Linked DNA regions of Homo sapiens: region 2 is linked to region 1. Evidence: promoter capture Hi-C in human tissues and cell types (Jung and others, 2019). All regions are on one chromosome and are shown on one strand. Each heading gives the region's core, a stretch centred on a gene start or on the middle of the fragment in contact. The rest is flanking DNA. Distances are from core to core; before and after follow the strand shown.

Region 1 (2,950 bases), core at 441-2,940:
AGTTTTTACACAGGCAGGTTTTCCAGCTCTGCTTGTGACTGAGTGGACATGTTCAATTCTGGGCCCGCTGTCCCTGCAGATCTAAAGCCATGGCTGCCATTCCAGCCTTTAGCAGAGACAAAGCTGACATTTTGCTCTCCATAAGTCTGACTCCTGTTGCTATCTCAGTGGATTCTGAACTTACATGGGGACCATGGGTATTATCTTGAAGCCCCCTAAAGCCACAACAGTGGGCACTCAACAAACCTTGGCAGCAGAGTGAGTATGACAAGTTCAGAGGACAACGAGGAGATGGGCCTGCTTTGAGCGGAGGAAGTATGCTGATGTAGTTGAAGAGAAGTTAGATGGACAGGGTGGGCCCAGTAATGCAGGGCTTATAAGAAAGGCAGAGTTTGGATTTGATGTGGGTAGAAGAACGCTGAAGTTTCTGAGTAGAGGAAGAACATGAACACGAGGAAGACAATGTTTAAAATAAGGGAAAGAATATGACAATGGATTGCAGTGGAGACTACAGGGGAGAGCCTGGAGTCAGAGGACAACGAAAGGAGGTTTCCAGAATTTCTGAGTGAGGGAGGATGAAGGTCTGGCCTAGGAAAGTGGACATGTGAACGGAGGCGAGGGGATGCATATGAGATCTCAGCGGCTAAACTGCCAGGCTATGGGTACAAGCCGGCTCTGAGAAAAGGAGATAGGTTTGAAGGCAACCACCCTGAAAGAGGTAGATAAGCAGGCCCTGAAGCTGGGGGAAGTGAGGCTTAGTCTTGGGCATGTGAAATCTGAGTTGCTAAGTGGATCTGCTCTCCTTACTAGTTATGGCAGGAAAGGCGCCTTAATTAGGAGCATTTTAGGGAGTTAACCCTGTCAAAGAGGTAGCACACTTTCGAAGGCCAAGGGCTGGGAAGAAGGTGGTGAAGATGGCAATCCTGAACACAGAGGCTACTTGGGATGACAGGGATGGGAGGAGGGACACAGGTGATGAGTGAGTGGGCGGAAGAGAGGAGGGGGACACCGCTCCCCGGCCCGAGGGAAGGAGGGGATGAGGCTGCCGGCAAACGCTGGACTCAGGATCTTCCCAGCAGAGCAGGGCGGCCGCCACCTCACCCGGGACAATGCACTGTAGAACCCACAGCAGCCTTCCCCACGCCGGCCGGTCTTCCCGGCCCTGCGCCCACTTCCCGGTGCCCCGCTGCCCTGCTGCCGTGACCCCGGGATGCGGGGTCTCCTCTGCCTCCCTGGGCCTCCCCCTTCAGCCATGGGGGGCGGCTCCGCTTCCTAGGCCGCGGGACGTCTTTTCCTCCAGGTTCCAGTCCCGGACCTTCCCGGGCCCCCCACGGCACCGCCCACCTGGCCACCGCCGCAGCCCGCCCGGGCCGCCGCCAGCCAGCAGCCCCTCCCGGGGTGGGGTTTCCCTTCCCCCTACCCCTTTGTGGCAGGGACCCACGGGACACCCCCTCTGCCTCCGCTCCACGTCCAGGGGGCCGAAGGGGCGCCGGACGAGGGACCGTGCGGAGAGAGGGGTTCGGCGGCGCCAGGACTCCCGCGGGCTCCCCGGAGCAGGGGTCGGAAGGAGGGGGAGCGGGAGCCGCGGGGGCCGCTGCAGCAGAAGGGGGAGGAGAATGGGGAGGAGCTGGGGGGGCAGGCAGGCGGGGAAGGAGAGGTCTTAAGGGGCGGCGAGGGGAGGTCGCATTTCCTCCGAGGCTGGCGATCGGCGGAGCTCCCACCTCCGCTTACAGCTCGCTGCCGCCGTCCTGCCCCGCGCCCCCAGGAGACCTGGACCAGACCACGGTGAGCGCAGGGCGCACGGCGCGGAGGCCGGACTCTTCGGGCGGCCGGGGGTGCTTGGGCGGCCGGAGCGAGCCTGCGGGACCCGAGCAAGTTTCCCAGGTCAGCGCGGGGCCCGGCGCCTTCAGACTCGCTCTCTTCTCTCTTCCGCAGATGTGGAAACGCTGGCTCGCGCTCGCGCTCGCGCTGGTGGCGGTCGCCTGGGTCCGCGCCGAGGTAGGCGAGGGGCCGAGGAGTCCGAACTCGGTCCCCGGGGCCTCTTGGGTCTGCGCGCTGGGCGGGTGGGCGCGCGTCCTGGGGATGCTCTCCCGGGGTGGCGCTGGGAGTTTCGGTCCTTGGGGTGTGCTGGGGTGGAGCTGGGGCAGTAATGCTGCTTACGAAACTTAAATCTTTAAAGCAGGAAAAGTAGTTCGGGCCGTAAGCGGGAGCCCCGCCGCGGCTAACATGGAGGGAGAGCGGGGAGGAGGAGAGGGGACGGGCTGGGCCGACGGGGACGAGGCGGCGACTGGAGCAGCAGCGAGTTCAAAAAGGCGCCTCAGTTCCGTCCTTCACTTCAGAGGAGACTGAGAGTAGTTGGGGACTTTTCCCTCCCAAGTCTGTCTCCTGGGGGCGGGGGCAGAGGAATCGGGATTCTTCTTTTGGGGCAAAATTAATTTTCCTTTCTCTCTTTTAAAGTGAGATCATGATTCTCTGAAATGTATTTTCTTCTTTGTGAAGTGTCCTCGGGTTTTGTGTTATCATCTGGGCAATGTAACGGCCTTTTCCCAAGTGTTCCCTGTAACGTTGCGCAAGTGTAAGAGAAGATCCATTGCTCTGCTCTTTGGGGGCTCGAGTTTCCAGTTAAAGCATTTCAGCGCTTGTTTTTTTGTACCAATTTTTTCAACTCTAACGACCTTCCTGAGACACTACAAACAAACCAACAAACTCTTTGCTCAGAAGCCGCTCCATTAACTCAAAGGTTTATGGACAGAAAATAAACAATTCTAAATTCCCCGGGCTCCAGTCTCCAGGAAAGTGAGGTCAGAAACTAAACATTTGATAATTATGGCAGGAAATATGGAAGGAATTAAAAAGCATGAGGGAGAAGAAATGGAATGCACATTACAAAAGAAATAGCTCCCTGGTGGGTGGTTTATGCTCCCTGTTTGAATTTTTTCCTTCATATTAC
Region 2 (2,700 bases), core at 171-2,670, 63 kb before region 1:
TATATGTAAATGAGGACATGGAAAGAGCTCTAAGATATATTATGAAGTGAAAAAGGCAAGTTTAGACAAACAAGTACAACGTCCCACAGAATGAACTATTTCCAGAAATGAAGAAGTATATGGGGAAAGGTCTTGAAGAATACACTCCAAATTGAGTTGAGTGAGTACCTTTGGAGAGGGATGTGGGGTTGGAAGAGGGGCCAAAGGGGATGTTCAGTATCTGTAGTATCTGAGTTTATGCATTGTTAACATATTCAACATGTGATCTTTAAAATTAAAAATAAACAAAAATATTCCTTTGAAAAAATGTAATATTTTGGCTGGGCATAGTGATTCATGCCTGTAATCCCAGCACTTCAGGAAGACAAGGCAGGAGGATAACTTTGGTCCAGGAGTTTGAGACCAGCCTGGGCAACATAGGGAGACCCTATCTCTACAAAAAGATTTAAAAATTAGCAGGCATGGCAGTGCACCTCTAGGGCCTCAGCTACTCAGGAGGCTAAGATGGGAGGATCTCTTGAGCCCAGAAGGTCAAGGCTGCAGTGAGCTGTGATTGTGCCACTGCACTCTAGCCTGGACACAGAGCAAGACTCTGTAAAGAAGAAGGAGAGGGAGGGGGGAGGGGGAGGGGGAGGATATATATATATATATATATATATATAGTATTTTAAATAAAGAAAGGGTACCAAGGCACTAGTCTCGAATACATGACATGAATACTAGACATGAATCCTTGTCCTAGCTCTGCACTTGCTAGTAAGTCACCTCACTGCCCTGAGCTTCAGTGGCCACCTGTAAGAAAGGGAATAATCACTGCCCAGAGACTTAGATCATAAAATGAGATAATATATAGGACAATTTTTCAAAAACTTCACAGTGCACTAAAATTCCTTATAATTAAGATATATCCAAGTTGAATCAGGTGACTAAAGTTGGGAGGGAAAGCTAATAAATTGAATGATACAACCAGGGTCCAAATTATTTTAATGAATTAGATCAATGAGCATCAACCAATCAGAATAATTGAATAAGGATAAATATAAATTTTATTTATAGCTTCAAAAAATGAACTGCACAAGAGTAGGATATTAAAAAACAGTGTTAGAAGCATTATTGTGAAACAGTTTTAGAAGTAGTTTATAATGTAGATGCTGAAAATAAAACACAATTTCAAGCCATATTAAGAGAAAGCTTGGAGAGGTGCTCACAGTCACCGACTGGGTCATCCACCAAGATTCACTCATCCAAACTGGTTGACCAGTTAGAAACACTGAAATATGCATCATACAGTCTTACCTGAACTTCTCTACATTGAATGCCATACAACTTTGCATTTAATATGATTTAAATAATTTTCCCTGTTTTTTCCATTATACTGTAAGCTGCTTGAGGACAGGTGCCATGTATCATATTTCTTCATTCCCCATAAAATTTAGAGGAGATCTGGGCTCATAAAAGACATTTAGTAAATTGTAAACTTAATAAAACAATTTTTAAAGACTGATGATAATGCAGTTCCCATGCATCATTCTGAAGATCAGTAATTATATACATGGTTCCAAGAGTAGATTTGGAGGAGTTGAACCTGTACTGCCAGTTAATTTTGATTTTGATTTTTTTAGAGACAGGGTTTCACTCCGTTGCCCAGACTGGAGTGCAGTGGCATGATGATAGCTCACTCACTGCAGCCTCGAACTCCCAGGCTCAAGCAATCCTCCCACCTCAGCTTCCTGAGTATCTGTGGGCCACCATGCCCAGGTAATTTTTTTTCTAGAGATGGGCTCTCCCTATGTTTCCCAGACTGGTCTCAAACTCCTGGGTTCAAGTGATCCTCCTACCTCAGCCTCCCAAGTGCTGAGATTACAGGAATGAGCCACCATGCTTGGCCCCCAGTTCGTTTGTTTTGTTTTTGTTTTTGTTTTTTCACTCAGTTACCTCATTTTGACCTTGTCTTGTTGCTGCTGTTGCCTTTTGATTTTTTTATAACCAAAAAAGCTTCATTTTTTAAATTTAGCTTTCTTACTTTCTTGTGCCTTCAACACCTTTGAAACAATTTTCTCCTTCTTGATAAGGAAAGCACCTTTCAACTTGTCACAGGCACATTTGGCACACATGGGACACCTTAGGCCCTGCTGACATGTTTTTTCATACTGGCCAATCATAAGAACTTTAGGTCTCACAGCAGAAATCCCTCAAAGTCGGCCTGGGCACACACCACATGCAGATTTTGGTGCTTTTCCATCCTTCTTGGTGTAAAGGTAAACAATTCTATTACTAGGGGTTCAGTACAGCAGAGTTCTGTTAGAGGCTGTTGTAGGAAGCCTAAGACAATATGTCAAACACTGACATTCTGAGCGCTTCCAGACAGCATCCCTGGAAGAGCTGACCTTGTTTTCTTGAGATGTCTTTTCTTTAAAGCAGAGTGCAGTAATATTTCTATTGATTCATTACTGTATTATATTAGTAAAAGTGTTATGTGCAGAATATTTTCTGCTACAGGTGGCAGAAATGGCTGAGACATCTGTTAGAATGTGAGAAAATTATCCATCAATCAAAAGCTACTAGAGGAAATAGCTATTTAAGCATGGAAGCCCTTTATAGAGTTTTATAAGAATTCAGGCACATACAATCTTATTCTGCATTAAAAAAAATCCACTCAGGTAATTAATTTTTGCCCTCTCAGAGGTGTGGTATTGAGAA

What was found. The method cuts DNA at HindIII sites, captures the fragments that hold promoters and counts their contacts. A contact is called where the count stands out against the background at its distance.
Region 2: a fragment that was not itself captured here is called in contact with the fragment with the promoter of FSTL1 in region 1 in 1 of the 25 tissues and cell types used here (bladder).

Annotation. Positions count from the first base shown.
Region 1 is chr3:120,449,732-120,452,681 of GRCh38, reverse strand. It overlaps FSTL1 (follistatin like 1), which reads left to right and starts at 1,690. Exons shown (of 11, transcript NM_007085.5): 1 at 1,690-1,785; 2 at 1,936-1,998. The coding sequence starts at 1,936. It overlaps LOC124900546 (a long non-coding RNA gene), which reads left to right and starts at 2,028. Exons shown (of 2, transcript XR_007096030.1): 1 at 2,028-2,950. The HindIII fragment of the contact is 21,476 bases long and covers 1-2,950 here.
Region 2 is chr3:120,512,499-120,515,198 of GRCh38, reverse strand. It overlaps the pseudogene RPL34P9. Among named protein-coding and RNA genes, the nearest start is that of FSTL1, 63 kb to the right of the region's middle. The HindIII fragment of the contact is 3,428 bases long and covers 1-2,700 here.